Linked DNA regions of Homo sapiens: region 2 is linked to region 1. The links are contacts of gene promoters, found by promoter capture Hi-C in blood cells and fetal thymus (Javierre and others, 2016). All regions are on one chromosome and are shown on one strand. The core of a region is centred on a gene start or on the middle of the fragment in contact, and the rest is flanking DNA. Distances in the headings are between cores, read along the strand shown.

The links. Contacts are between HindIII fragments. The CHiCAGO score rates a contact against its expected background, and 5 or more counts as called.
Region 2: a contact is called between a fragment that was not itself captured here and the fragment with the promoter of SLC47A1 in region 1, in 2 of 17 cell types (M0 macrophages and M1 macrophages). The highest score is 6.2, in M0 macrophages.

The regions. Positions count from the first base shown.
Region 1 is chr17:19,530,630-19,535,632 of GRCh38, reverse strand. It overlaps SLC47A1 (solute carrier family 47 member 1), which reads right to left and starts at 1,779. Exons shown (of 17, transcript NM_018242.3): 1 at 1,559-1,779. The coding sequence starts at 1,693. The HindIII fragment of the contact is 8,699 bases long and covers 686-5,003 here.
Region 2 is chr17:19,653,310-19,657,464 of GRCh38, reverse strand. It overlaps ALDH3A2 (aldehyde dehydrogenase 3 family member A2), which reads right to left. Exons shown (of 10, transcript NM_000382.3): 4 at 891-1,099. Among named protein-coding and RNA genes, the nearest start is that of ALDH3A2, 6.6 kb to the right of the region's middle. The HindIII fragment of the contact is 1,156 bases long and covers 777-1,932 here.

The sequences.
Region 1 (5,003 bases), core at 530-3,029:
GCCACCATGCCCAGCTAATTTTTATTTTTTATTTTTTGTATTTTTAGTATAGACGGGGTTTCACCAGGTTGGCCAGGATGGTCTCAATCTCTTGACCTCGTGATCCGCCTGCCTTGGCCTCCCAAAGTGCTGGGATTACAGACGTGAGCCACCACGCCCAGCCATGAGGTGTTTTTGTTTTGTTTTGTTTTGTTTTTTGAGACCAAGTCTTACTCTGTTGTTCAGGCTGGAGTGCAGTGGCACCATCCTGGCTCACTGTAACCTCCACTTCCCAGGTTCAAGCGATTCTCGTGCCTCAGCCTCTGGAGTAGCTGGCACTACAGGCGCCCGCCACCACGTCTGGCTAATTTTTGTATTTTTAGTAGAGACGGAGTTTCACCATATTGGCCAGGCTGGTCTCGAACTCCTGACCTCAAGTGATCCATCTGCCTCAGCCTCCCAAAGTGCTGGGATTACAGGCGTGAACCACCGCGCCCAGCCCCAAATCATGAGTTCTTTCTGGTCTGTGAGAAAGCATGGCTGATGGATCTTATTCCATGGCTTTGACCTCGGCATTACCCTTGCTGTCCTGCACACCACAGCGGGTGCCACAATATCCCACAAACTACCGAGCCCCCACTCCAGAGGCACAGCGGCCCCCCTCAGCCCGCGCAGGTGCAGAATGTGGGCCTCAAAGTCAAAAGCTTATTCACGCCTTAAGTGCATACCAGTTGCTTCTTGTGCCGCGTCCTACCCTCTCGGTTTGAAAACCACCCAAGCTGGCAGGAGAACGTGGATAGGATTGTGTTTTTGTGGTTTTTAAAACCACATTATTTTTAGGAGACAAGGCAGAAACAGCCCTAACCTAATGATTAAAAAGAAAAGAATCCCACAGATAAGAACACCTCGACCCCACAAAGAACCACATTAAAACCCCTTTTTTCTTTCACATACATAATTACTGGCGGGGAGGGGGTGGTACAGGATGCCTCTGGTTTCCTCGGTAGAGGTTGACTGAATTCTGAAGAAATCATTTCGCAGCTCTGAGTCCACGACAGACCACGCACCCCCTCCTCCGTGCCTCGGGATTATTTAGATCGCAGAGCTCCCGAACTTTTGACCGCTACTTTTCAAAGAAACAAGTTCCCTTGTGTTTTGAAGTTCAGGCAACTTGCGTTTTATTGGCCGGAATCAGCTCCCAGAGAAGGCACCCCCGGATGCAAATGCAGCCTGGACCTGGTAGAGCCCCGTTAGGGGCAAAGGTCCCAGCTCTCCGGTGTCTCCTGGCGCAGGAGGCTGGAGCCGCCGGCCTCTCCGAGCCAACATGCGCCCGGGCGCGTACCAGCCGTTCCCGCAGTGCCCCGCGGGGCCCCCAGTCGGGTGGTGCGGAGCGGAAAGCGGCCGGGACGCAGGCAGAGGAGCTGGGGTGCCCGCCCGGCTCCTGGCACGATGCTCCCCGGAGCCCGCCGGCGGACAGCTCGCTCGGTCCCCAAAGCCCGCCAAAGTCACCCGCGGAGGCAGAAATCACCAGGTCCCCAGCCCGCCGGTACCGGCCTGCCACTGAGGCCACCTTACTCACCGCGGGGCCAGCCAGGACCAAGAGCGCCCGCAGCTCTTCTCGGAAGGCGGACAGCCGCAAGCAGCGCGACCCACGGACCTCAAGGGTGGCCTCCGGGCCTCCGCGCACTGGCGCGGGCTCCTCAGGAGCTTCCATGTGACTCGCGCGCTGCGGCCGGGTAGCGCGGAGGCCGGCAGTGGGTACCGCGGAGGCCGGCAGTGAGTACCGCGCAGGCCGGCAGTGGGTACCGCGCAGTGCAGCCTGCTCTGCAGTCCCCGCCCCGGCCGCCCGCCCAGAGCCCGCCCCGCGCCTGGCGCCCGGGGGCCCGACTGAGCGCGCAGCCAGGCAGCCTGCGACCTTGGGCGCGCCCCTTGCACCTCTCTCTGCACCACTGCGGACGCCTGCGGGTCTTGCAAAGACCAAGGAACTCCTGCACTTGGAAGGCAAAGTTTGAAAAAGCTCTGTAAACTAACGGAACGCGCTCCGGGGGCTGGGTCCTCCACGTCTCGGACGCCAGGACTCACCCCGGCTCTCCACCTCCGCTGGGGGTTTCAGGTTCTGAATGACCTGGCGTGGAAGGACCCAGAGGCCTCGAGCCGTGACTCGGTTAGCACCCCGCGGGGTGTGTGGGGTTGGGCGCATTTGCTGTGCAGATTGAGTTGGGTACACCCTTTGATGCTGGTTAGGGTGTTGCATACTCCTCTCCTCTCATCAGTTGTTCCATTAGAGAACTTAGAATCTACCAGGATAGAGCAACATGCTCCCATTTGCCAAGTAGCACAGTTTGTGCCAGCTGGTCGTGTTGGAAGTTTATCCATCAAGCCTGCTGTGGGAGTACGAGAGGCTGCGGCCCAGAAGGGCAGGAGCAGCGCGCTTTCCTCCCAGAGCCTCAGCTTCCTCATCTGCAAACGTGAAAGAACACTCGTCGCCAGCTGTGAAGACTGGGGTTGCCTGGGCGGAGGACCGGAGTCAGTGCCACCTGCCCTCAGCCTGGCACCAGCCGTTACCTAATAAGTGTCAGTTACCAGGACAAGATTGATTTCTCTAATAGTCAAAATTCCTTCCGTTGTAATGATCCAATGTAAGTAGAGAAAATGGAAAACAAATTTTTTGGCTCACATAATCAGGAAGTTTGGATTCAGGGATTTGAAAACAAGGTCATTAGGCCAGGCGCGGTGGCTCACGCCTGTAATCCCAGCACTTTGGGAGGCCTAGGCGGGCGGATCACAAGGTCAAGAGATCGAGACCATCCTGGCCAACATGGTGAAACACCGTCTGTACCGAAAATTAGCTGTGCATGGTGGCGCGCGCCATAATCCCAGCTACTAGGGAGGCTGAGGCAGGAGAATTGCTTGAACCCGGGAGGCAGAGGTTGCAGTGAGCCGAGATCTCGCCACTGCACTCCAGCCTGGTGGCAGAGGGAGACTCCACTCAAAAAAAAAAAAAAAACAAAACCAGATCATTCTTGTTGTCCCTCTTCCCATCTCTGTCCCTCTCCTCCCTTCTCCTCGCCCCTTGGGATTCTTTCCGTAGTTTCTCTTCCTCCTCTGCCGGCAGCCTTTCTCTTCCTGTGCAAGTGACAGTGGTGGCCTCTGATACCCTCGTTCCTATCTTTCCCGTCTGTTAAACCAGAAAGTAAGGCCCTCCCCTCCTCTCTTCTGGTTCCAAACTAACAAACAAAAAACTGGGAGAAAATCTGGTTGGCCCTGCTTAGGTTTCTTGCCCACCTCTGGAACAATCGCCCTGGGTGGGAAAATAGGGTCTGATGTTTGGCTGGCCCTGGACCATGCACCCAGCTTTGAACCTACAGGGTTAGGGTTAGGTGCCCTGTGACTGGTCTCGTCCCACAAGGACTGTACATATGGAGTAGCGCAGTTTCCCAAAAGAACTGAGAGTGTCAACAGACAAATACCCGAGGATATTCACTAGATCTCTGATCACTGCTGTTTTTTGATAATTTTCTGGAAGTCCTGACTGATGTAATAAGACAGGAAATGGAAATGTAATGTATAATGTTAGGAAAGAAAAGGCAAAGGGATTACTCACAGTAGAAATTGACAGACCGGGCCAGGCACAGTGGCTCATGCCTATAATCCCAACACTTTGGAAGGCCGAGGTGGGAGGATCACTGGAACCCAGGAGTTTTGAGACCAGCCTGGGCAACACAGTGAGACCCCATCTCTTAAAAAAAATCCACACAACCCAAAGAAATAAAATATGAACAAAAGCTAATAGAATTGATAAAGGGGTTTAATAAAGTTGCTACATAGAAGTTCTTCAACAAGTCATATCAGTCCTTTATATTGGTAATAACATATATGAAAATACTAAAAGAAATCTTTCACAATAGCAACAAAAAACAAAAGGTCCTCGTGATACAGAGCATAACTCCTCACTCCTTAAAGGTGGATTGTACACAGTGACTTCCTTCCAAAAAGTAGCACAGGAAAATTAATTTTCAATTAATATATTAGGTTTTAGTCCACTACTGTGTATTCCATTATTTTAAAATTTAATAGAATGATTCTAAAAGCAATTGATAGTGTAAACAGGAAAAGATATAACAAAAACTCTGAAAAAGAAAAGTAAGGAGGAAAGAAGTAGCTCTATTGGCTGGTAAATAGCTTTTAAAACAACGTGTGGTTGGCTGAGCACATTGTACAGGTGAGTAGCCCACACCTGTAGCCCCAGCACTTTGGGAGGCTGAGGTGACAGGATCGACTGAGCCCCGCAGTTTGAGGCTGCAGTGAGCTATGATTGCACTACAGCACTCCAGCCTGGGCAGCAGAGTGAGACCCTATCTCAATAAAAAACAAAAAACAAAACAATTAAAAGAACAAAGAACCCTGTTACTTGGAAAGTGTTAGGATTTTGATTGACATTGCATTATATCTGCAGATTTATTCAGAAAGAATGCACCTCGTTAAAATTCTGTCTTCTATTTCAATCATATCCCTAGTCTAATCAGTACTCATCTAGGGAATGGGAGACTCACTGGACTAGGGATATGATGAATTTGTTATTGATGCTTGATAAATAGTCATAAGTATGTTCATATACGGTTCTTAACTTGCTGAAATATATTATTAAAAGCATGTATTAAAATTGAATTTTATCAGGGTTTTTTTTTTTTCTTTTCGGGGGGACAGGGTCTCTCTCTGTCGCCTGGACTGGAATGCAATGGTTTGATCTCGGCTCAAAGCAGCTTCGACCTCCCTGGCTCAAGCAATTCTCCCACCTTAGCCTCCTGAAGAGCTGGGACTACAGGCATGTGCCACCACACCCGGCTAATTTTGTTTTCTTGTTCCTTTTTTTTTTTTTTTTTTTTTTTGAGACAGAGTTTCACTCTTGTTGTCCAGGCTGGAGTGCAATTGTGCGATCTTGGCTCACCGCAACCTCTGCCTCCTGGGTTCAAGCAACTCACCTGCCTCAGCCTCCCGAGTAGCTGGGATTACAGGCATGTGCC
Region 2 (4,155 bases), core at 105-2,604, 120 kb before region 1:
AAGAGGAGAAACAGCCTCCCAATGTCCTTTCCCCTCTTCCAGTCCAGCCAAAGGAAAGTCCTGGATGACCAGAGTTCGGTACAGACTCTCCTGGTTGTGGCTTTTGGCTCTGCCTGCAAGATGTTCAGGTATAAAGCAGGATGTCAGCCAGCCTCCAAGGCCATCCTCCTCTTTGTGGAGCCCTGCCCCACTTGGGAAGACCTTTCCTATGCATGGGCAGAAACCCATGCCCTAAACATTCACTAACTGAGGGTGTCTGGTTTTGACAAATGGATTTCTACTTAGGAAGCCAACCTGGAACCCTGACCTGGAATCTCTGAAGGGCAGAGAAAGCCACACCACCCAGAGCACAGAGTCAGTTCTATGATTTGGCACTTCTTAGTAGCTAAACCGGATTTAGCAGAGAGAACCTGAAACCTCTTATTTTCTAATTTTCAGATGCAAGATGTTATTCACAGTTAAAAAATGAGGAACACTTGTTTTGCCCACAAAGGATCTCAGTTAAGATATCAGCATAATACCCTCTCAAATGGGCATTTAAAGATTTTATTAGGCACACACAATACTTTGGATTATGTACTTCACAGATCACTGGCCAGAAGAACGTTAAAATTTCTTGCTAGATCTAGCTGTAATCTTGAGAACAGATATAACTTTTTTAAAATTCCTAAGGACAACCACATGATGTCAGGACTTACAGCTCACCATTTTTGACAGTGGCGCCAAGAGACAGTGAAAGACTCCTGTTACTCTTGAGGACATCAACCACCAAAGCTTAATAATGTATCTTGGAGCCATAAGGTATGGGGTTCAAGTACAAAGAGTAACATTGTCAGGAAAAGTCTCCATTGTGCTGGGAAAACCTCAGAAAATCAGAGAGCCAGACTCACCTGCAAACAATGTCCAGGTCACAATCTTTATCAATATAACATGGACTTTTCCCTCCCAGTTCAAGAGTCACAGGGGTCAGATGCTTGGCAGCAGCTTCCATGACAATTTTGCCAACCGCAGTGTTTCCCGTATAGAAAATGTGGTCAAATCGCTGCTTCAGGAGCTCCGTGGTTTCCTCAACACCACCATTAATAACAATATAGAGATCCTCAAAGAAAGAGAAACACAAACTCTTGCACTGCCAAATAAATCCTAACGTCTAACATCAGCAATCTCTTCAACATAAACATGTAACATTCAGTAAAACCCAGAGAGTGTCAAGACCAGTCCCTGTGAGGGATGGGAGAGGGAACTGACCAAGGACAAGAGGAGAACACACAGTCCGATGGCATCTGGGAAGCATGAACCCACATAGAACTAATCTGGAGACTCCAGTGTTTTTTTACATGAGCTCAGCAACAAAGACACTAAGGAGAACAAATGGTTGAATTTGACCAGGGAAAATGCATGAGACGCGGGTGTGTGCAGAAGTGCCTCTGGTGAAGAGTGGCTCCCACAGGACAGGTCATGCATGTCTTAGTCTGAATGTTCTCTGTCTCACAACACAGAGTGGGCTTAGCCCACGCTATTCTGAATGAATGGTATATCCGGCACAGTAGCTGAGAGCGCTTGCTTTTGAAGTGTATCTGGTTTGAATCTGGGCTCTGCCACTCACTAGCTTATGCAACCTTAGGCAAGCTACTGAACATCTCTGAGCCTCAATTTCCTCATCTGTTACTGGGAGAATTCACGTAGCTTCTGTGGACTGAGCCCATCTATGCATTGTGCTATCATTACCAGCTATTCTAAGAGAGAACATCTTGGACAATAACAGCATCAAAAGTAAGAGAACAGATGGCAAGCAAGGAAGACAGAGAGGTATTCAAGACTCCAAGGTGGAAGTGTGAAGTAAAAGCTGGCTTGTGGATCTCATGTTTCCACTTGAAGGCGAATTAATTTCATTCACTTCATGGTTCAGCTGCCCAACAAATGTTTCAAGCTTTAACTTTTCTATGGCTTAATCTACATAGCATATATTATTGATCCCCTAACACGGTAACTGAAGCTGGTAGAGCATTATTATCCTCCTTATCCGGACAGAGTCAGTTATTGAAGAATTTACCCCTGGTCAGGGGCAAAGCGGTACCTTCAACCTCTATCTTCTGGTTCTACGTCCTATTCAATCCTTGACATCTCACTGTCTTCCATTTCATCTTTCTTGATTGGATCATCACAGCTATTAGAACAAAATGGCTCTAACAAAGAGAAAAATATCATTCCAAGAACCAGAACTGGCCTCAATCCATCACAAGTTGATGTACAGAATACAGGTAAGATATTTTTAAGCTGTATTTCGCTTAAAGCTAAATGAAGACTCCTCCCTGTAGCAACTGCATGTAGAACTCAGCAGTGCCAATTTCTTCGCGGCATCATAACTTCCTCCCCAGGAAGGCATAAGAACCTCTGACTCAGACAGATGAACTACCCGCAGTTGGGCAGATCATTTTCTTTATTCAGTTCTTGATATTCTTAAATGCCAGCATGTTAAGTCAGTGTGAGGATCTGCCCTCTAGTTCAGGAGGGCACTTTTTGTGTATGTGTGGCATGTTTTCATGCCACAGACATGTCTTTTTTGAAAGCAGAAGTACTCTTATAGGCTGGGTGAGAGGTGAGAGCGTGCGGGCAACCCTTGCTCGCTCTCAGCACCTCCTTGGCCTTGGCACCCACTCTCGCCACGCTTGAGGAGCCCTTCAGCCCACAGCTGCACTGTGGGAGCCCCTCTCTGGGCTGGCCAAGGCTGGAGCCGGCTCCTTCTGCTTGTGGGAAGGTGTGGAGGGAGAGGCGCAGGCAGGAACCGGGGCTGCGCGTGGCGCTCACAAGCCAGAGCGAGTTCTGGGTGGGCGCAGGCTCAATGGGCCCCACACTCGGAGCAGCTGGCCGGCGCCGCCAGCCCTGGGCAATGAGGGGCTTAGCACCTGGGCCAGCTGCTGAGGAGGGTGCCCCGGGTCCCCCAGCAATGCCAGCCCACCAGCGCCACACTCGAATTCTCGCCGGGCCTCAGCCACCTCCCCGCAGGGCAGGGCTCGGGACCTGCAGCCCGCCATGCCCAAGGCCCCCACCCCGCCCCTGGTGGGTTCCCATGCTGCCCGAGCCTCCCTGATGGGCGCCGCCCCCTGCTCCACAGCGCCCAGTCCCATCGACCGCCCAAGGGCTGAGGGGTGCAGGCGCGCAGCGCTGGACTGATGGGCAGCTCCACCCACAGCCCCGGCGTGGGATCCACTAGGCAAAGCCAGCTGGGCTCCTGAGTCGGGTGGGGACTTAGAGAACTTTTATGTCTAGCCGGAGGATTGTATATGCACCAATCAGCACTCTGTGTCTAGCTTGGGGTTTGTGGATGCACCAATCAGCACTCTGTATCTAGCTAATCTGGTGGGGATTTGGAGAACTTTTATGTCTAGCTAGAGGATTGTAAAAGCACCAGTCAGCACTCTATGTCTAGCTCAAGGTTTGTAAATGCACCAATCAGTGCTCTGTGTCTAGCTAATCTAGTGGGGACTTGGAGAACTTTTATGTCTAGCTAGAGGATTGTAAATGCACCAATCAGCATTCTGTGTCTAGCTCAGGGATTGTAAACGCACCAATCAGCACCCTGTCAAAACGGACCAATCAGCTCTCTGTAAAATGGACCAATCAGCAGGATGCGGGTGGGGCCAGATAAGGGAATAAAAGCAGGCTGCCCAAGCCAGCAGCGGCAACCTGCTCGGGTCCCCTTTGACACTGTGGAAGCTTTGTTCTTTCAGTCTTTGCAATAAATCTTGCTGCTGCTGCTCACTCTGGGTCCGCACTGCCGTTATGAGCTGTAACACTCACTGCGAAGGTCTGCAGCTTCACTCCTGAGGCCAGCGAGACCACGAACCCACCGGGAGGAATGAACAACTCCAGACAGGAGGAACTAACAACTCCAGATGCGCCGCCTTAAGAGCTGTAACACTCACCACGAAGGTCTGCAGCTTCACTCCTGAAGCCAGCAAGACCACGAACCCACCAGAAGGAAGAAACTCCGAACATGTCCGAACATCAGAAGAAACAAACTCCGGACACACCATCTTTAAGAACTGTAACACTCACTGCAAGGGTCCGCGGCTTCATTCTTGAAGTCAGTGAGACCGAGAACCCACCAATTCCAGACACATGGGCATGGTGGCTCACACCTGTAATCCCAGC